Regions from separate parts of the Homo sapiens genome. Here regions 1, 2, 4, 5, 6 and 7 are each linked to region 3. The links are contacts of gene promoters, found by promoter capture Hi-C in blood cells and fetal thymus (Javierre and others, 2016). All regions are on one chromosome and are shown on one strand. The core of a region is centred on a gene start or on the middle of the fragment in contact, and the rest is flanking DNA. Distances in the headings are between cores, read along the strand shown. Region 1 holds the start of CD27 (CD27 molecule). Region 2 overlaps NCAPD2 (non-SMC condensin I complex subunit D2). Region 3 holds the start of GPR162 (G protein-coupled receptor 162). Region 4 has its middle 29 kb from the start of CD27. Region 5 holds the start of VAMP1 (vesicle associated membrane protein 1). Region 6 overlaps CLSTN3 (calsyntenin 3). Region 7 overlaps LTBR (lymphotoxin beta receptor).

Evidence for each region. The method cuts DNA at HindIII sites, captures the fragments that hold promoters and counts their contacts. A CHiCAGO score of 5 or more calls a contact.
Region 1: the fragment with the promoter of CD27 here is called in contact with the fragment with the promoter of GPR162 in region 3 in 4 of 17 cell types (total CD4 T cells, activated CD4 T cells, naive CD4 T cells and 1 more); the score reaches 6.5 in total CD4 T cells.
Region 2: a fragment that was not itself captured here is called in contact with the fragment with the promoter of GPR162 in region 3 in 3 of 17 cell types (non-activated CD4 T cells, activated CD4 T cells and naive CD4 T cells); the score reaches 6.4 in non-activated CD4 T cells.
Region 4: a contact is called between a fragment that was not itself captured here and the fragment with the promoter of GPR162 in region 3, in 1 of 17 cell types (activated CD4 T cells). The highest score is 5.1, in activated CD4 T cells.
Region 5: a fragment that was not itself captured here is called in contact with the fragment with the promoter of GPR162 in region 3 in 3 of 17 cell types (non-activated CD4 T cells, total CD4 T cells and naive CD4 T cells); the score reaches 8.1 in non-activated CD4 T cells.
Region 6: a contact is called between a fragment that was not itself captured here and the fragment with the promoter of GPR162 in region 3, in 2 of 17 cell types (total CD8 T cells and total B cells). The highest score is 5.8, in total CD8 T cells.
Region 7: a contact is called between a fragment that was not itself captured here and the fragment with the promoter of GPR162 in region 3, in 2 of 17 cell types (non-activated CD4 T cells and total CD4 T cells). The highest score is 6.7, in non-activated CD4 T cells.

The regions. Positions count from the first base shown.
Region 1 is chr12:6,443,587-6,446,572 of GRCh38, forward strand. It overlaps CD27 (CD27 molecule), which reads left to right and starts at 1,369. Exons shown (of 6, transcript NM_001242.5): 1 at 1,369-1,645; 2 at 1,838-1,969. The coding sequence starts at 1,510. CD27-AS1 (CD27 antisense RNA 1) reads right to left here. Exons shown (of 6, transcript NR_015382.2): 5 at 1-131. RefSeq lists enhancers at 461-530, 551-600, 1,505-2,006, 1,551-1,610, 1,641-1,820 and 1 more. The HindIII fragment of the contact is 1,289 bases long and covers 781-2,069 here.
Region 2 is chr12:6,499,030-6,501,818 of GRCh38, forward strand. All of the region lies in intron 2 of NCAPD2 (non-SMC condensin I complex subunit D2), which reads left to right. Among named protein-coding and RNA genes, the nearest start is that of NCAPD2, 6.3 kb to the left of the region's middle. The HindIII fragment of the contact is 435 bases long and covers 1,234-1,668 here.
Region 3 is chr12:6,820,351-6,823,180 of GRCh38, forward strand. GPR162 (G protein-coupled receptor 162) reads left to right here and starts at 1,471. Exons shown (of 5, transcript NM_019858.2): 1 at 1,471-1,550. CD4 (CD4 molecule) reads left to right here. Exons shown (of 10, transcript NM_000616.5): 10 at 1-449. RefSeq lists an enhancer at 482-1,454. The HindIII fragment of the contact is 21,739 bases long and covers 1-2,830 here.
Region 4 is chr12:6,414,003-6,416,960 of GRCh38, forward strand. No RefSeq gene overlaps it. Among named protein-coding and RNA genes, the nearest start is that of CD27, 29 kb to the right of the region's middle. The HindIII fragment of the contact is 2,514 bases long and covers 80-2,593 here.
Region 5 is chr12:6,470,467-6,473,473 of GRCh38, forward strand. VAMP1 (vesicle associated membrane protein 1) reads right to left here and starts at 211. Exons shown (of 5, transcript NM_014231.5): 1 at 64-211. The coding sequence starts at 65. It also overlaps a transcript of TAPBPL not described here. RefSeq lists silencers at 243-292, 503-762. The HindIII fragment of the contact is 938 bases long and covers 782-1,719 here.
Region 6 is chr12:7,152,981-7,155,757 of GRCh38, forward strand. The region is part of intron 16 of CLSTN3 (calsyntenin 3); the gene reads left to right. Among named protein-coding and RNA genes, the nearest start is that of CLSTN3, 24 kb to the left of the region's middle. The HindIII fragment of the contact is 748 bases long and covers 1,032-1,779 here.
Region 7 is chr12:6,391,546-6,394,245 of GRCh38, forward strand. LTBR (lymphotoxin beta receptor) reads left to right here. Exons shown (of 10, transcript NM_002342.3): 10 at 1-21. Among named protein-coding and RNA genes, the nearest start is that of LTBR, 8.7 kb to the left of the region's middle. The HindIII fragment of the contact is 2,950 bases long and covers 1-2,700 here.

The sequences.
Region 1 (2,986 bases), core at 119-2,618, 380 kb before region 3:
ACTCTCTGCGGTGGGAATTCAGGTGCCTTGCCTGATGGTGACAAAGCTGGTTTTGCATAAACAGCTCTCTGAATCACACCCAAATGTGGCTTCTGACTTGAGTGGACCCCCATGAAGAGCTGCAGAGGGGGCTGGGAAAAGACAAGAGAATGGAGAAAATGAGGAGAAAGGAAACTACAGAGTGAGATAGAGAACAGATCTGACAGGTGTGACCACAGCAGTGTGACATTTATGAACAGTGTGGAAACAACGGCAAAGCCCCTAAATTAAAAACTTCCTGGGGAAATAAGCCACTCCACATATCGGTTGCTGAGGAAAGAGTGGAGGAGGCTGTTGACCCGTGTGTGTCCCCATGACTCAAAGAGGGAAAAGTCTAGCTGTTTCCAATATCCCGAAATCAGTCTTGCTGGGAGAACTGGGAAAATAAAAAAGAGATGACCCCCGTAGGAAGCTACCTTTAATCCCAAGTGCCCAAGGCTAGGAGAGAAGATGCTCCAGGCGATCCAGGACACCAGTGACTGACACAGCCAGAGGTGGGAAAGGGGAGGATAAAGATGGCACAAAAGTGAGGAGTGAGCAAGGGTCTGAGAGGGAAGGCCATGTGGGCAGTAGGTGGCACCCACATCAGAGACTGACATGAGGATTAAAGGAGAGCATAGGTGATCGGTCAGAGTGTGACAGAAGAGAGGCAGCTCTACACCCCTTGCTTGCAATTCTGAGCATTCTGTAGCAAACTCGTTTGGCCATCAAACCAGACCTCAATTGAGACAAGGCTATTTAAGCTTCCTCCCAGTTGGTGTAAATATTCAATAGTTTTGCTGCAGAAATGTTGCGTTTGATTATGAGACTACCCCAACTCCCCAAGGGTGTTTTGTGGTGCTGGTTTCTGTATAAACCTGAAAAATTCTGAATTCCAAAACTTATCTGACCCCCAAAGTTTCAGATAAGAGCTTGTGGACCTGTGCTCAATTCTGGTTCTCCTTCCTTCTTTCAACTGTTGTCTGTGAAAGGAGGGATGCAGGTATGGGAGACAGGAGTCCTGCGAATTCGTCTGTAAACTGTGGACGGGGGGGTGGGTGGGGGGGGGTAACGTGGGCACCTTTGTGCACAAGTGCATGAATAGGAGGGGTGAGCAACTGTGTGTCCATCACCTTTTTGTCAAAGAAGCAGGAGTCAGTGGGCTACGTGCTTCATGAGCAGGAGAGGCGGAAACTAAGGAAGGCTCATGTGTTGGAGGAAGCATGTTTGAAGAGCAGCAGGTCTCACAGAGTTTGCTCTTTAATACTCTCCCCAGCACACGGAAGGGGAAGGGGGTGGAGGTTGCTGCTATGAGAGAGAAAAAAAAAACAGCCACAATAGAGATTCTGCCTTCAAAGGTTGGCTTGCCACCTGAAGCAGCCACTGCCCAGGGGGTGCAAAGAAGAGACAGCAGCGCCCAGCTTGGAGGTGCTAACTCCAGAGGCCAGCATCAGCAACTGGGCACAGAAAGGAGCCGCCTGGGCAGGGACCATGGCACGGCCACATCCCTGGTGGCTGTGCGTTCTGGGGACCCTGGTGGGGCTCTCAGCTACTCCAGCCCCCAAGAGCTGCCCAGAGAGGCACTACTGGGCTCAGGGAAAGCTGTGCTGCCAGATGTGTGAGCCAGGTAAGAGGGGGCCTTGGTAAGGGCCAGGTGAGTGGCGAAAGAGAGAGGACTGGGGTTAATACAGTAAATAGGCGCAGGGTGAGACTGAGCTCAAGCAAGGAGGGAAATCCTGCAGCTGTGGGGAGGCACCACCTTGAAGAGGGCAGAGAACCAGCCCTTCTCAGGCCTTGATCCCTTACCCTCTCCTCCCAGGAACATTCCTCGTGAAGGACTGTGACCAGCATAGAAAGGCTGCTCAGTGTGATCCTTGCATACCGGGGGTCTCCTTCTCTCCTGACCACCACACCCGGCCCCACTGTGAGAGCTGTCGGCACTGTAACTCTGGTGAGGTGGGCAAGGGTGTGTAGGTGGGGACGATGGACAAGCATCTGGGGGAGCAAGGCTGGTGACGGGTTTGGGGGTGCAAGGAGGATGACGGGGCCAAAGCTTTGGCCTTCTTCAAGGCTCACAGCAAGTGGAGCCAATGCTGGGAAATGCGGCACCCTAGGTGGGGCATGAATTAACGTGGGCAGACATCTAGTATTCCAGGAAAGGGATAAATAGAATTTGAGGGATTGGTGAGAACGGGTCTATGGATAGGATCAAGACAATAAAATGAGAGAAGTGGCTCTATGACCCCAGATTTCGGGCAAGCAACCCCCAACCAATAAACTGACTGTGTTCCCAGAGTGCACATGTGCAGGTTGGCCATTGGGAATTTGGAATACATCTTTCTAAGGAAATAACAAAGCAACCCAATAGGTAACAACCTTTTTTTGCACAAAAGCCAATTTGAGAAAATGAGTATGTATGTAGCCTGTGTTTTTATTTTATAGTTCCAAAAAAAAAGGTTTTTTTTAAACTAAGAAGTATAATATCTGCAGTTGTGCTTATGAATGCTGTTATTATTTCTCCATCTTCGCTACAATTTCAGAAACTACGGCCAGTATACACTAGAATAGCAGGCTTTAAAGTGGCCCCTTTGAACAAATGTTCTCTAGCAAGACACTTTTTAGAACCAGGTAACTGTAACTATTAAACTACCTACTTGCAAAACGTGTTTGGTGTCACTGGGTCTCTTGGTACTGGGTTTTGTTTTGTTTAGTTTAGAGACAAGGTCTAGCTCTGTCACCCAGGCTGGAGTGCAGTGGTGCAATCATAGCTCCCCACAGCCTTGAACTCCTGGGCTCAAGCAATCTTCTAGTCTCAGCCTCTGAAAGTGCCAGGATTACAGGTGTGAGCTGTAGTGCCTGGTCCCGTAAAAACAAAAACAAAAACCAACACCAGATGTGGTGGCTCATGCCTATAATCCCAGCACTTGGGAGGCCAAGGCAGAAGGGTATTTGCATATTTTGTAGAGAC
Region 2 (2,789 bases), core at 201-2,700, 320 kb before region 3:
GATAACCAAGGTGGCTACTAATGGGTGAGTAGGGTTGCATATACAGTGTGGATATGTTGGACAAAGGGATGGTTCACATCCCAGGCAGGAGGCGGCAGGGCAGCACCAGATTTTATGCTACTCAGAATGACACACAACCTACAATTTATGAATTGTGTATCTCTGGAATATTTCTTTCTTTCTTTCTTTTTATTTTTTTAAGATAAGGGTCTTGCTTTGTTGACCAGGCTGGAGTGCAGTGGCTCAATCTCAGCCCACTGCAACCTTCACCTCCTGGGCTCAAGCAATTCTCCTGCCTCAGTTTCCCAAGCAGCTGGGACTACAGGTAAGTGCCACCACGCCTGGCTAATTCTTGGGGGGTTTTTTTGTTGTTCTGGAGACGGAGTTTTGCTCTGTCGCCCAGGTTGGAGTGCAGTGGCAAGGTATCGGCTCACTGCACCCTCCACCTCACAGGTTCAAGCAATTCTCCTGCTTCAGCCTCCCAAGTGGCTGGAATTACAGGTGCCCACCACCACATCCAGCTAATTTTTTTTGTATTTTTTAGTAGAGCTGGGGTTTCACCATGTTGGCCAGGCTGGTCTCGAACTCCTGACCTCAGGTGATCTGCCCAACTTGGCCTCCCAAAGTTCTGGGATTATAGGCGTGAGCTACTGTGCCCAGCCTATTTCTGGAATATTTCATTTAATATTTTCAGACTTGAGATTGACCACGGGTAACTGAAACCCCAGAAAGTGAGAACACAGATTGGTGAGGACCACTGTGTGTAAGATGGTTGTAAGAGCCAAAGAGAAAAATAAAGAAGACAGTGTGGCCAGGCGCAGTGGCTCACACCTGTAATCCTAGCACTTTGGGAAGCCAAGGTGGTTGGATTGCTCAAGCTCAGGGGTTTGAGACCAGCCTGGCCAACATGGTGAAACCCCATCTCTACCAAAATTACAAAAAAGTTAGCCAGGCGTGGTGGTGCACACCTGTAGTTCCAGCTACTTGGGAGGCTGGGGTGGGAGAATTGCTTGAGCCCAGGAGGCAGGGGCTGCAGTGAGCCATGATCATGCCACTGCACTGCAACCTGGCCACAGAGCTAGACCCTGTTTCAAAAAAGAAAAAAAAAGAAGTGTACTGGGAATGGTGGCTTGTCCCTGTAATCCCAACCACTTGGGAGGCAGAAGCAGGATTGTTAAGGCCAGGAGTTCAAGACCAGCTTGGGCAACATAGTCTCTAAAATTAATTATACAAAGCTTAAAAATAAATAATATAAAGAAGAAGATAGTAGGACCTGTCATTTCATGTTGGATCATCAGAGAAGGCTTGCTGTTACGTCACGTTTGAGCAGAGACCTTAAGAAAGTAAGGAAATAAACTATGCAGATTGTTAGGGAAGAGCATTCCAAGCAAACAGAAAAGCCTATGCAAAGGCCTTGAGGTGGGCAAATGCCAATAGAGTTGGAGTGCATTAAGCTAGGAAAAAGAGATTAGGTAGGAAGTGGTACAGATTATTCTAGAATCTTGCTCCTCAAAATGTGGTCCTCAGATCAGCAGTGTTAATATCAGGATCTCATGATCTGGGAGCTTATTAGAAATGCAGGATGTCAAGGCCCAGGATGTCAAAGCTGCTGAATCAGGAAATCTGTATTTTAAGAAGATTCCCCCAGGCAATTTGGATGCAATTATAAGCTTGAGAAGCACTGATCTCTAGAGCCTCGTAGATCATGGCAAAAACTTGAACTTCAGTGTGAATGAACTTGAAAGCCATTGGGTTTTGAGCATGGGAGTGACATGGTCTGACATTTTAAAAGATTCACTGGCGACTGTGTTGAGCAGAGACTATAAGAGGCAAGGAGAGAAGCAGGGATACTAGTTAAGTGGCTAATACAGTAATACCAAGTAGATTGGACTGGAGGGATAGCAGGGGAAGTGGTGATAAAACGACTCAGGATATATTTTCAAAGTAGAGCTTTTACAGGAATGCTGATGGATTGGATTGGATTATAGGGTTAGTAAAGGAATCTGAGATGAGAATGATTACAAGGCTTTTTTTTTTTTTTTTTGACAGTCTTGCTCTGTTGGCTCTGTCACCCAGGTTGGCGTGCAGTGGCGTGATCTTGGCTCGCTGCAACCTCTGCCTCCCAGGTTCAAGCAATTCTCATGCCTCAGCCACCTGAGTATCTAGGATTACAGGTGTGCACCACCACGCCTGGCTAATTTTTTTTTTTTTTTTTTTTTTTTTTTTTTTTAGGCAGAGTCTCGCTCTCTCGCCCAGGCTGGAGTGCAGTGGCACCATCTCGGTTCACTGCAAGCTCCGCCTCCCAGGGTCACGACACCTGGCTAATTTTTGTATTTTTAGTAGAGATGCGGTTTTGCCGTGTTGTCCAGTCTGGTCTTGAACTTCTGGCCTCAAGTGATCTGCCTGCCTCGGCCTCCCAAAATGTTGGGATTACAGGCGTGGGCCACCACACCCGGCCTTACAAGGCTTTTTGACTTGAGCAACTAGAAGAATGAAGTTGCCATTTACTGAGATGGGGTAGCATATGGGAGGGAGAGGTTTAGATTGTTGGTTATGTGAGTGCAGAGTTCAAGGGAGAGGTTGTCAGCTAAAGATACACATTTAGGATTTAATACTCAGCGTGTAGACAGCACTTAAAGCCATGAGATTGCAGTGAGTGTAGATGGAGAAGAGCAGCAGTTTGAAGACCAAGACCTGAGACAGTCCAGCATTTAGAGGCTAGGAGGATGAAGAAGAACCAGTAGAAGAAATTAAGAAGCAGTCATTGGGGCAGAAAGCGAATGAAGGAG
Region 3 (2,830 bases), core at 221-2,720:
AGCTGGGAGCACAGGCACTGCAGGAGAGAATGCCCAGTGACCAGTCACTGACCCTGTGCAGAACCTCCTGGAAGCGAGCTTTGCTGGGAGAGGGGGTAGCTAGCCTGAGAGGGAACCCTCTAAGGGACCTCAAAGGTGATTGTGCCAGGCTCTGCGCCTGCCCCACACCCTCCCTTACCCTCCTCCAGACCATTCAGGACACAGGGAAATCAGGGTTACAAATCTTCTTGATCCACTTCTCTCAGGATCCCCTCTCTTCCTACCCTTCCTCACCACTTCCCTCAGTCCCAACTCCTTTTCCCTATTTCCTTCTCCTCCTGTCTTTAAAGCCTGCCTCTTCCAGGAAGACCCCCCTATTGCTGCTGGGGCTCCCCATTTGCTTACTTTGCATTTGTGCCCACTCTCCACCCCTGCTCCCCTGAGCTGAAATAAAAATACAATAAACTTACTATAAAGATGCTCTTCGTGTGTGTGTGTGTGTGTGTGTGTGTGTGTGTGTGTGTGTGAGAGAGAGAGAGAGAGAGAGACCCCTTCTCTGGGGACCAGGAATCTTCTGGTCTTTGGGGTCGGACCCAGAGGAGAGGTTGCTGGGCGTGCCCCAGGAAGGAGATGAAGTTTCCCTGGAGAGGGAAAAATTCTGTGGAGGCTGGCTACCCACCTCCACAACCCACAGGGCTCTGTGTGGGCCTGTGTGTGTGTGAGGCTGAGACTCTGTAATTACATGTGTGTGATATACCGTGGGGGAGAGACTCAGGGTTGTGTGAGCTCTCCTGGTGTATGTGTGTGGCAGAGAAAAAGGACTATGAGAAACTGTAACATGTGTGTGCAAATTGTATCCCCAACATATGTGTTTGTGTTCCAGGAGGAGGAGGCAGAGTGTGTGTGTCTGTGTGCATGCATGCGCCCACATCCTTTTAGCTTGTGCACAACCACCCCCAACTCCACAAGCAGCCCCAGTGTGCACCACAAGCCCCCTCACTCCCAAACCCAAGGCCCAGCCCTCACACAGATACACACAGTGACACACGCTTCCTCCTCCCCGAACAGCTAGCTCCTCAGTCCCCAACAACACCAGCTGCCTCTTGGAGCTTGTGTTCGTGTTGAAAACGGGAAGGGGTGGGGGCAGGACATGAACCATTTCACCAATGAAGCCGGTTCCCAGCCATCCTCCTCACCGCCCTCCCTCTCAGCGCCTTCCTTGCCCCTCCTCCCCGAGTCACCACCGTCCAGTTCCCCACCCTGCACTCGTTTCCCGCCCCCCCCCGCCCCCCACAAAGCTGTCCTGCCTTCCCTCTGGCCTGGGCTCACTGGCAGGACGACCCCGGGAGAGAGGGTCCTGGAGAGTGAGAGGGGCAGAGACCGAGTGAGCCGTGGGCTGAGCCTGGGAGGCCGGGACTGAGGGGGAGGAGGGAGGCCCGGGGGAAGGGAGGGAGGGAGAGAGGGAAGGAGGGAGGAGGGCGGGCGAGCTGGAGCCGGCAGGCAGCGGGAGCCCGAGAGAGCCGCGTCGGGAGTGCGGTCTCCATGGCAGTGCTGGGCGCAGCCGGAGAGAGGTAAGACGACCCCTGCCTGCCCCGTCCCCTGTGTTGCCTCCCTTTCCCCCTCAAGCTGCCTCCTCTCCCCTAGGCCGGCCCCTCCTCCCCAGCCACCTGCTGTTTCTGCCCTGGAGAACCTGGAGGGGGACAGGAGGGAGGAGCCGCCTGACCTTACCCCTTCACCCCAAAGGGCGAGGGACCCCGTCGGCCAGGGAACCTCCCAGATCCCCCTTCCCACCTTCCTCTGATCTCTCCCTGTCCTTCACCTCCCTCTCTCTGTCCTTCACATCTTTCCTGCCTCCTTCCCTCTCTGACTCCCTATCTCTTTCATCCTGAGCCCACCAGCTGGGCCTGGGTGGAGGTGGGTGGGAAGGGGTCCAGGGCTGTAGGAGAGGACACTGGGGGCTGCTCTTGGCCAAGTCCCTCCACCTCCCTCTGGCTGGCCATTGCCATGGCAACTAGGGTGTACTGGGCTCCGGAGGGAAGCCAAGGGTGGGGGTGGACCAGGACCTCTTGGGGAAAGCAAGGGTCTGAGCTGCTTCCATGGGAAACAGACCCTTTCACTGCTGTGCCCCATTTTTACCCCACTTACCCTAAAGCCATTATGTGCTTCCTTACAGCCCCACTCTGTTCAGGGTTTCACCCGATTCCCTTACCCCCCTTCCCAGGGCTCACTGAAGCTCAGCATCACGCACTAAAACTGGGACCATCCTTCCTCCCATGAGAGGGAAACTGAGGCTCTGGGCCAGGGAGGAAGAGTCAAGGTCTCCCCACGGGGAGTCAGCACCTTATTGAACATTTGGCTTTTCTTCTCAGCCTCCTATTCCCTGCTCCCTCCCTCCCTCCCTCCTCCAGTCCCTCCTCCCTCCAAAGCCTCCTCTCCAGGGGGTTTGAGCTTTTCCTGCTATTTTCAGATACTACCACTTTGCCCCCTCTTTCTCTTCTGCTCAAACTCTCCTCCTTCTCCCTAGTTCCCCCTCTTTCCATTTCTGGATGCTTCTGATGTCAGCGGTTTCCCCGCCTTCAGGTTCCCTAGCACCCCCTTCGGTCCCAGACTCCTTTCTCCCATTTTCCCAGATATGGGTAGCTGGAGGGTGATCACCCAGGTTTGGGGAAGTAGGGGCTAAGCACCAAGACCCCTGCATCCAGGAGACCGGCAGGTAGGGGAGGAAGGCTGTGATGCCATATCCCAGTTCACTGTGAACCCTCAAGAGGAAACCAGTCTTGTGTCTCCCATCAGTAGTTCTGAAGAGACATTTAGGGACTTGAAGATAGGGGTGGAGTAGTGCTGAGCAGGG
Region 4 (2,958 bases), core at 87-2,586, 410 kb before region 3:
TCTTTCACTTCTGACATTAGTAATTTCTGTCTTGATTTTTTTCTTGGTTAGTCTCACTAGAGGCTTACCAATTTTATTAAGCTTTTCAAAGAACCAGTTGTTGGTTTTGTTGATTTTCTCTACTCATTTCCTGTTCTCAATTTTATTGCTTTCTGTTCTAATCGTTATATTTCTTCTCTTCTGCTTGCTTTGGATTTAGTTTACTCTTTTTTTTCTAGTTTCTAAGGTAGTTGATTGTATAATAAATCTTTCTTCTTTCCTACTATAATGCATGCAATGCTATAAATTTCCCTCTAAGCACTACTTTCGCTGTATCCCACAAATTTTGATAAGTTGTGTTTTCATTTTCATTAGTTCAAAATATTTTAAAATTTCTCTTGCGATTTCTTCTTTGACCCACGGGTTGTTTGAATCACATTGTTTAATTTCTAAGTATTTTGAGATTTTTCAGCTATCTTTCTGTTATTGATTTCTACTTTAATTCATTGTAGTTTGAGAGCAGGCATTGCATAATTTCTACTCTTTTAAATTTGTTAAGGTGTGCTTTATGGTCCACAGTGTGGTCTATCTTGGTGAATGTTCCATGTGACTGTAAGAAGAATGCATTGCTGAGTGAAGCAGTCTACAGATGTTCATTATATCCAGTTATTTATGGTGTTGCTGATTTCAACTACATCCTTAATGATTTTCTGCCTGCTGGATCTGTCCATTTCTGGAAGAAGGATGTTGAAGTCTCCATCTCTAATAGTGGATTCATCATTTCTCCTTGCAATTGTAACAATTTTTGCCTCATGTATTTTTGATGCTCTGTTATTAGGTGCAACACAGCAAGGATTATGTCTTCTTGCAGAATTGACCCCCTTATCATTATGTAATGCCCCTCTTTCTGCCTGATAATTTTGCTTACTCTGAAGTTTGCTCCATCTGAAACTAATGCCCCTCTTTCTGCCTGATAATTTTGCTTACTCTGAAATTTGCTCCATCTGAAATTAATATAGCTACGCCCACTGTTGTTTTTTTTTCCTTTTTTTTTTTTTTCAAGATGGAGTCTTGCTCTGTCTCCCAGAGCTGGAGTGCAATGGCGCAATCTCAGCTCACTGCAACCTCTGCCTCCCGGATTCAAGTAATTCTCCTGCCTCAGCCTCCCAAGAAGCTGGGATTACAGGCACACGCCACCAGCCCTGGCTAATTTTTGTATTTTTAGCAGAGATGGGGTTTCACCATGTTGGGCAGGCTGGTCTCGAACTCCTGACCTCATGATCCACCCGCCTCAGCCTCCCAAAGTGTTGGGATTACAGATGTGAGCCACTGCACCCAGCCCCACTATGTTTTAATTAATGCTAACTATATCTTTCTCCATCCACTCACTTTTGGTCTGTATGTGCCTTTATATTTAAAATGGGTTTATTGTAGACAACATATAGTTGGGGCTTTTTAAAAATTCATTCTGACAGTCTCTGTCTTTTAATTGATGCATTCAGACCCCACTGACATTCGAGGTGATTATTGACATAGTTGGATTCATACCTATCATATTTGTTACTGTTTTCTCATTGTTGCTCTTGTTTGTTCCTACTTTTATCTTCCGCTCTTTTTCTGGCTTTTGTAATTTTAAGTGAGCATTTGTATTATTCCATTTTCTCTCCTTGCTCTTAGCATATCAGCTATACTTGTTTTTTTTCCATTTCTTTTATTTTAGTGATTGCTCTGGAGTTTACAATATACAGTTAAAACTAATCCAAGTCTGCTTTCAAATAACACCATACTACTTCACATGTAGTGCAAGTACCTTATAATAACAAAATAATCCTAATTACTTCCCCCATCCTTTGTATTACTACCATCATTCATTTTACTTATGTGTAACATATATATATATGACCAAATACACGATGCTATTATTATTTTGAACAAACTATTGCCTGTTAGATCAATTAAGATCAAGAAAGGCCGGGTGCAGTGGCTCACTCCTGTAATCCCAGCACTTTGGGAGGTCGAGGCGAGTGAATCATTTGAGGTCAGGAGTTAAAGACCAGCCTGGCCAACATGGTGAAACCCTGTCTCTACTAAAAATTAAAAAAAAAAAAAAAATTGGCCAGGCATGGTGGTTCACACCTGTAATCATAGCACTTTGGGAGGCCAAGGCAGGCAGACTGCCTGAGCTCAGGCATTCAAGACCAGCCTGGGCAACATGGCGAAACCCCGTCTTTACTAAAAATACAAAAAATTAGCTGGGTGTGGTGGTGCACACCTGTAATTCCAGCTACTTGGGAGGCTGAGAGGGGAGAATCACTTGAACCTGGGAGGCAGAGGTTGTGCTGAGCCAAGATCGTGCCACTGCACTCCAGCCTGGACAGCACAGAGAGACTCTGTCTCAAAAACATAAAAAATAAAAATAAAAATAAAATTAGAGAGTCCAGAAAATTAAAACGAGAGAGTCCAGAAAATTCTCACAGCACTAAAGTCTTATAGGGAAATCAGTTCTTTCCTTCATCCTTCTAAGAGATTCACTCATAGGTTCACTAAGCACCTGCTGGCATCAGGTGCCATGCTAGGGACAGGAATGTCTGCGACATGATTCCTACCTTCAAGAAGCTTGTAGACTATTGAAACAAACAAACATTGATACAATGTGTAACAGCATATGAAGCACAAGTTCTATCACTTTTAATCCTCATTACAACTCGCCATTTCCTCCACTTTTCAGATGTGGAAACTCTTTGACCACAACCTTCAATTCTTGCTCAACCATTCCCACTATGCCTCAGCCCCTCGCTCAGGACTGCCAGTCCTCTGCCTCCTCTGCTTGGTTTGCAGGCATCAGCTCCTTCCATTTTCACTTCCCTTTCTGTCCATCTTACATCCTATAGTCCACTGTTTTTGTCACTTTTGTTGATACTATAAAGTCCCTTGCTTTTCTGAACTTTAATCACACCTTTATGGAAACATCCCGCTTCT
Region 5 (3,007 bases), core at 1-2,500, 350 kb before region 3:
ATCGGGAGCTTGGGGCGAGAGTTGTCAAGGAGGTGCCGAGCCCCCACACCAGAGTCAACTCACATTTTTCTGACAGAGAGAGTGAGGGTCTGTTCCTCTCCGGAGGCTGCGGCGAGACACCCGGTGAGGGACGCTGCGGCTGAAGTGGACGGAACTGCCAAGCTCCGCCTCGCGCCGACTACCCCGCGGTCTAGCTGCGCTGGAACTTACTGCAGCTGCCGCGCCGGCCTCCGCCTTTATTAGTGCTGACCACGCCTCCCGGATAACGGTGACAACCCCGCGGCCCAATCCATGCCCAGGACGGTCGCCCAGCGCTACAGGCCTAGCCCGCCCCGCCCCTGCCAATTGCCAGTCACAACTCTCCTCTCATCCGACTCCGGAAAGGAGCGGTTGCTGTGAGGATCCTTCAGTGATCAATGCGACCATAGTTTGCGCTCCAGTCTGGCGGAGGGACGGGGCGGGGTGGAGATGAGGTCTGTCCCTTCGGAGGGCGCTTCAGCAGTTTGTTAGGCATTTGTGGTGCCTCCCAACCAATCGCTAGGCAGTTACTGAAGACCGTGCCCGCCCCTGCCCCACCCCGCGCCGGGACTCGCGCATTCAGCTGGAGGCGGCGGCTTCCTGGTGCGCGCCCAGCCCTGGTGCCCTGCTCTGGCCCTCGCTCCGCACCACCGCCCCGCCTCTAACTAACGCTCTGAGAGGGTGCAGGAGCCTCGAGACACAGCCACAAGCTCCTGGTGCCAGATACCGGATGCGGGGTTCCGTCCCACCAAAGCAAGCACGAAGCTTTCGTTCATTCGTTTCTTTCAACATAGCCTTCCTAAATTGAACTCCCTCCCAAACCTGCTCCAGTCGAGGTTACCACATCGACTCAGTTGCCCAGACCAGAAACGTGGAAACCATCCTAGATTTCCTCCCCTTCACCTTTACCTCTCCCCCAGTAATCTGCCAAATCGAGTTGATTTTTCCTTCTTGGCATTCCAGTGATTATCTCCCCTCTGCTCACTATTATCCCTTTCCTGGACTCCATCAGTTGGAAAATTCACCATTATTTTATGTCCCGCTAAGAAAAAAGGTTACAAGGCCGGGCGCAGTGGCTCACACCTGTAATCCCAGCACTTTGGGAGGCCGAGTCAGGCAGATTACCTGAGATCAGGAGTTCGAGACCAGCCTGGCCAACATGGCGAAACCTCTGTCTCTACTAAAAATACAAAACAGCCAGGCATGGTGGCGGGCGCCTGTAATCCCAGCTACTCGTGAGGCTGAGATAAGAGAATCGCTTGAAGCCGGGAGCCGACGGTTGCAGTGAGCCGAGATCACGCCACTGCACTCCAGCCTGGGCAACAGAGCAAGACCCTGTTTCAAAAAAAAAAAGAAAAAAGGTTGCAAATTATCTGTGACAAATGCTTTCCTTACCACTTAGCATTTTTGTTTTACATGTATTGAAAATATGGGTTTATATACATACCGATTTCTATATTTCACTCTTGTGCATGCATAAAAAGGGAAATAGAAAACAATAACATGGTAACTATCCCTAAAACTTCACAGAGACTGATTGTTAATGATTCACTTTTTTGACTCAGTCTTGGATGTCCACTAATTTCCACGCAATGTAGTCCTCTGTGCATTTCATAAGGGCTTTGGTGATGCAGCATTTCCTAAGAGTGTTCCTCTCCAGGCTCTAGAGTTTTCTTCCAAGCCTCAGACACCCATTTGGCAAGCTTTGATGCTCATGAGCAGGTATGACAAATATAGTTTGACTGCTGTCTGACTAATAGCTAAAGTGAAACATCCCAATTAGAAGATATTGAAATGCAAAAAAACAAACAAACAAGCACACACAAAAAACCCAAGTGCCTCCTAAGATCAATGATACATCATTCTGCTTCCAGTCTTGCCATCCTTTACATCTATTCTCTAAAAAGTCCACCAAAGTTATCTATCCAAATGTCACAAGTCTTCTTAAGGAAACAATTGCACTTGGAAACATAATGCATTCATCATATGTGTTTATCCCATTCTCCTCCTGAAACCACATCAAAATGGCAAGTTAGGGGGAAAAATGACAATTTGGGAAAATTTGCAAAAAATTATAAGCCCCCAAAGACAAAAAGAATGGGGCCGGGCGTGGTGGCTCACTCCCGTAGTCCCAGCTATTTGGGGGGCTGAGGCGGAAGGACAGCTTGAGCCCAGATGTTCCGGTTGCAGTGAGCCGAGATCACGCCACTGCACTCCCACCTGGGTGACAAAATGAGACCCTATCTCCAAAAGAAAAGAAAAAGGGCCAGGCGCAGTAACTCACACCTGTAATCCCAGCAATGTGGGAGGCCAAGGAGGGCGGATCACTTGAAGCCAGGAGTTCAAGACCAACCTGGCTAACGCAGCAAAATCCCGTCTCTACTAAAAATACAAAAATTAGCTGGGCATGGACGCCTGTAGTCCCAGCTACTCGGGAGACTGAGGCAGGAGGATCACTTGAACCCGGGAGGCGGAGGCTGCAGTAAGCCGAGATCTTGCCACTGCACTCCAACCTGGGCAACAGAATGAGACTGTCTCAAAAAAAAAAAAAAAAAGAAAGAAAGAAAGAAAAAGAAAAGAAAAAAGAATGGGAGGAAATATTTCTGGCAGCATGAATGCCTATTTATTCCCACCAACTTTCCCCTGAAAAAAAACTTAAAATCATTGAATGGTGACTCACGCCTATAATCCCAGCATTTTGGGAGGCCAAAGCAGGAGGATCACTTGAGCCCAGGAGTTCAAGACTAGCCTGGACAACATGGTGAAATCCTGTCTCTACAAGAAATAGATACAAAAAAATATAGCTGGGTATTGTGGCACACACCTGTAGTTCCAACTACTTGGGAGGCTGAGGTGGGAGGATTACCTGAGCCTGAGGAGGTCAAGAAAGCAGTGAGCCATGATCACACCATTGCACTCCAACCTGGGCAACAGAGTGAGACCCTGTCTCAAAAAAACGGGGTTGAGGGGGTGGCATTTTTTAAACTTT
Region 6 (2,777 bases), core at 156-2,655, 330 kb after region 3:
CTGAGGGGCTTCCCAGGGTTTTCTGACTGAGGCCAGCTCCTCTGATGCCCCCAGGGATTCAGTCTGGCTTCCTCTCCTTGTGCAACGGCCACCACCTACACTGTCTCTTATTTTATTTTATTTTATTTTTCTGGGACTGGCTCCCTTCTTCCTTGCTGTCCCTGAAAACAACCGCAGAGGCTTTTGGGAGGGAGAGACAGGGTCTTGTTCTGTCGCCTAGGCTGGAGAGCAGTGGTAATCCTAGCTCACTGGAGCCTCGAACTCCTGAGCTCAAGCAATCCTCCTGCCTTAGCCCCCTGAGGAGCAGATGCATGCCACTATGCCTGGCTATTTTTAAGACTTTTTATAGAGACAAGGTCTCACTTTGTTGCTCAGGCTGGTCTTGAACTCCTAGGCTCAAGCGGTCATCCTGGCTCAGCTTCCCGGAGTGCTGGGATTACAGGTGTGAGCCGCCGCACTTGGACTTGCAGACGCCTTTTTCAGTGTTCTACTGTGATTCACTATAGCAAGTAGGTGGAAGTGAGGATTAGCGGGGAATATAAGGCATAACCAAGCTGCAAAGATTAGAGAAGTTTCACATAGTATTTAGTCAATAGAGACATGTTAGCAAGCTAAACCTATTTATTTCAAATAAACTCTTGAGGCCAGCTATAAATTTTTTTCCTTCTTGTGATTCCATAGCACTTTCTCCAGTTCTTTCATTGGGGATCATTCCACTCAATCTTTTCTGGTTGGATACTAGGTCCTGCTACTCTGATTAGGCTCAAGGTAGATAGGGGTGCTGCCTGGCCTGGTGAGATTCTCGATCCTTACTTTCTTTGGTATAAGGCCCCAGGTGAGAGACTTCTTGTTCTAGGAGCCCAGCACCTTCTCCCCTGAGTGTCCAGCTGCCCTGCATGGGCTGGTCTGGCGGGCAGCGTTTCTCACCCCTCAGCCCCTGGAGGAGTGTCTGTTCACGGCACCCTTTCACCTCCCCTCGGTGAAGCCCAGTCTCCCCATCCTTTGTTCTGAGCTCATGTCCAGGCTGATCAAGCTTCCCTCAGATTTCAGTTGAGAGCAGCAGTTTTCCTTTGCTTCTTCTCTTATTTTGACCTGAATAGGACACAGAGTTCGTAGCTTCCCTGAGGGCACTGGTGATTGGCATGCCTGAGCTGACAGGCCATTCACGGCATAAAACCCTTTCCATATGCCTTTTCTGACTCCGCAAGGTGCTCCCTCCCTTTCACCTACAAATCTCGAGTGGTGTTGCAGAACTGTGGTTTCACAATATCAAACCATTCTAAACATGCAGAAGCAGTGAGAGGTACGATCTCCTCCAGTGGCACGGAGGCCCATTGCTCTAAATCTCCTAAGTGCACTAGAGAAAGAGAGATGAATGTGAACTGGAACCAGGGTAAACTGGAACAGTCAGGGGAGATTTTGTGGCACATGTAGAGTTTGCATTTGGACCTGAACTGTAAAAGGGATTTTTGGATGGGTGTGAGAGAGAATGGGAATTTGAGAACCGGGGGTAGATAGGTGGTTAAGAGTGTTTATGGTTAGAGAGAATAAGGTTGGTTGAGAAGAGCAAGCCGGATGATGAGGGTATTATGTATCTACTCATATCAAATTTTGATGACTGCCAGAATCACCTGGGGAGCTTTAAAAACTCTCGGCACCTAAATTATACCCTAGAATGTCTAGGGGGTGGGAGCCACGTGTCAGTGGTTTTTAAAAATCCCATGTAATCTTTAAAAGTTTGGGAATAATTTTCCTCTTTTGTTTCCTACAAGTATCTGAAGCTTTGCAGAAAGAGTTACAAAGCAATAGGACAAAAAGAAAATGAATGAGGAAGTAAGGAGGAACAGGTAATGATGAAATAAGGATCCAATGAAGCCAGGGAATAAAGTCAGCTCATAACATGCGTACTATGAGATGCTATGCAGTTGCTACCACGGGCCAGAATTTTGACCCTGAGCTTCTTCAAAGCTAAAGCAAAAGGAAACCTGAGCAGTTCTGAGAGCCGTGATAGGAGCCAAACGCTATTTCATGAAAAGCCCTGGGAGTGCGGGGGGCAGAAAGAAATCTCTCCCAAGGCTCTTTGCAAAGAGAGCACCGTGTGGGGCCATGGACAGGGCTTTCCACTGTCCTCGCAATCCCATGGACCATTTGCTAAGTCACCCCTTAATGTTGGCTCTGGAGGTCATTCAAGGCCAGAATTAACTGCTCAGATCTCATGTAGCAAGAAAAGCTGAACGCACTTCTTAAATTCTTGATTTTTATCTGTAGCTGATTTAAAAATCCTCCCATCTCCCCGGGCTCCTGACTCATCTTAAACTAATTAACCAGACTTGTTTGCTTGTAGATAGAGTGTCTGCATTTTGTCTTTCCTGTGGTCATTTCTTATTGTCCTGGCAATCAACTTGTCATTTCCTTCATTAGGCCAGGAGCTCGGAGGGACACTGCATTGATTAGGGCGCAAACCAGCTTTAGCTCGTCATCGTTGTGTGCTTAGAGGAAGTTCACCTGCTTTGGCCTCCACTCTGAGGGTGGGGTCACCACCCCTTCTGGAGCCTGGGCTTAGCCACTGGGCCCATCTGCCAGTGAAGGCACTGCCCCTGGCTCTGGTCTGTTGACGTGGAGACCTGAGAGACACTATTTCCTGCAGATGGGCAGGAGAGACAGCTCTGTCCCCTCCTCCCTTATCCCCCGTTCCCAGGAAGTTGAGAAATACTGATCCAGCCAGTCCTGTCTTCACCTTGGAACCAGTGTCGAGGGAGTGTGCCCCAGCAGAGTCC
Region 7 (2,700 bases), core at 11-2,510, 430 kb before region 3:
AAATAAAAAGAATGGGACCTAGATAATTTATTTTCTTGGGATTTATACAGAAACACTATTCCATGGAGACAATCTCAAAGACAAAGGTCAAGACACTAAAATATAATCCCATAAAGATATTTCAGTGAGGAGCTGGTGAGTATAGTCCAGGTAATAACAGTCTCGTCAGTGATGGCTGACAACGTGCCAGGCAGTGTTCTCAATGCTTTACAGTACTAACTTACTTAATCTTCACAATAACTCCCTAAGGTAGATATGATTCCCATTTAACAAATGAGGAAACTGAGGCACAGAGCGGTAACTTTCCCAATTCAGCTGCAAATGACAAAGCTGGGATTTGCACCTAGTTCGTCTGGCTTTTAGAGGCCTCTTGGGGAAAAAAAAGCCTTCATATACCACGCCCTTCCAGAATTTCTTTGAACGGGTAGAATGGTCTGGCCTTCTCAAATAATCAGATCTCTTGCATGTTCCGCAGGTGTTACTTTTCAGTCAACTCTCAAACATCTAGCCACACGCGAAGTGAAAAATGTTCTCCAAGGTTGATTGAAGGGAAATGTGTGCAATTTTTTTTTTTTTTTTTGAGACAGGATCTAATTCTGTCACTCAGGCTGTTGTGCAGTGGCACTATTATGGCTCATGGCAACCTTGAACTCCTGGCTCAAGGGATCCGCCCACCTCAGCCTCCCAAGTAGCTGGGGCTATAGGTGTGTGCCACGACGCCCAGCTAATTTTTTGTATTTTTAGTAGAGATCAGGTCTCCCTGTGTTGCCCAGGCTGGTCTCGAACTCCTGGGCTCAAGCAATCCTCCTGCCTTGGCCTCTGAACATGCAGTGATTACAGGCGTGAGAGCCACCGTGCCTGACCTGAGGTGTGCACTTTAGACATAAAATGAGAGAGGCCAAGTTCACATTTTGTTGGTGAACAGAAATCTAGGCTGGCCTCCTTTTGGTTCAGAAAGAGTATTTATGATTTTTACTTTTTTGGTTTCTTTTTGTCTTCTTTTATTTTTACCCCCAAAAAGGACTTTAAATCTTCTCAAGCCCTCTTATTAGTAAATGTTTGCCCCTCCCTGCCCCTGAATTCTCTCCTGTGCTCGGTCGAGAGGATCTTAGCTTGCAGGATTGTTAGGGAGCTGCTGCCAGCCGGCTGCTCCTTCCATAAAAGGCCACTCTCATGGGTCTGATATGAGGAACTCTGTCGCTGGAGCTCATCAGGGTGGGGCGGCTGCAAAACACACACCTCAGAAGGCGTCTGATCCAATGGAGTGGATGGGTCATTTAAGGTTGACTGTGAAAATATCACATCCAACTTCCTTTTTTGAAAAGTAAATAATGGTGAGCTGTATCTTTAAATAAAGTTAAATCCTCCTGCCCCTGCAATATGCTGGGGCCAGACCTCATGAATTCTTAATAATTGTTCTAATGTGTTTAGATAAAAAACAAATTTTATACATTTTTTTCAACAAAATAAAAGGAGGAAAATATTTTGAAAGAAATGATGCTGAAGCACAGCCCTTTGTGACACCATTCAAATTTATAATTATACCTGCCTGTATTTTTTTAGAGACAGGGTCTTACTGTGTCGCCCTGGCTTGAGTGCAGTGGTATAATCGTGGCTCATATAGCCTCAGCTCCTAGACTCAAATGATCTTCCTACCTCAGCCTCCCACGTAGCTAGAGCTACAGATGCGTGCCACCACACCTGGCTAATTTTTTTTTAATTTCTTTTTTAAGAAGTGGGGTCTTGCTATGTTGTCCAGGCTGGTCTCAAACTCCTGGGATCAAGTGATCCTCCCACCTCAGCCTCCCAAAGAGCTGAGATTGCAGGCATGAGCCACTGCACCTGGGCTGCCTAAATTAATTTTCTAGGGCCGCCATAACAAAGTACTGCAGACTCGATAGCTTAAGCTGCAGAGATTTATCTTCTCACAGCTCTGGAGGCTGGAAGTCAGAGGTCAACGTGTTGGCAAGGTTGGTGTCCTCTGAGGCCTCTGTCCTTGGCCTGCTAATGGTGGCCTTCCTGCCACCTATGTCTTCACATGGTCTTGCCTTTGTGCATGAGTGTGTCCTAATCTTCTCTTAGTGGATTAGGGCCCATCCTGATGACCTCATTTTAACTTAGTCACCTCTTTAAAGCCCCTGTCTCCAAATAAGGCCCCATTCTGAGGTCCTGGGAGTTAGGGCTTCAGCACGTGGATTTTGGAGGGAGACACAGTTCCACCCACAGCATTACCCATGTCTATTTTGCCAGTGTGGAGTCAGTACAGGCTCCAGGACACATCCACAGAGCACAGGCCACGTAGAGGGGAGCTCCTGTCTACAAGGAAAAGCTGGCAGAAAACCAACAAAGACAGCCTCTTGATGGTGGTCTTCAAAAGATGCAACAGGATGCAATGGCAGTTGACAATGGGGTAACTGTTGGTTGTGAGAACCCTAATCCTCTACCACAGGGAGGAGAAAGCTAACACCAAGTCCAACCCACATCAACACGGGGGTGGGACACCCGTTAGGGGGCCAAGGCTGTAGTCCAGAAGAAAGGTGGATGGAACTGGGGACAGAGCAGTAGCACAGGGAGATGGGGGAGGATGGGGTAATTCAGAATTTCCCTTTTTGAGAGTGGCATCAACACAATGTCAAAGTAGGAGTTCTCCGGCTTCTCTCCTCCCCAACAGAATTTCAACTAGCAACAATCCTGTGGCAA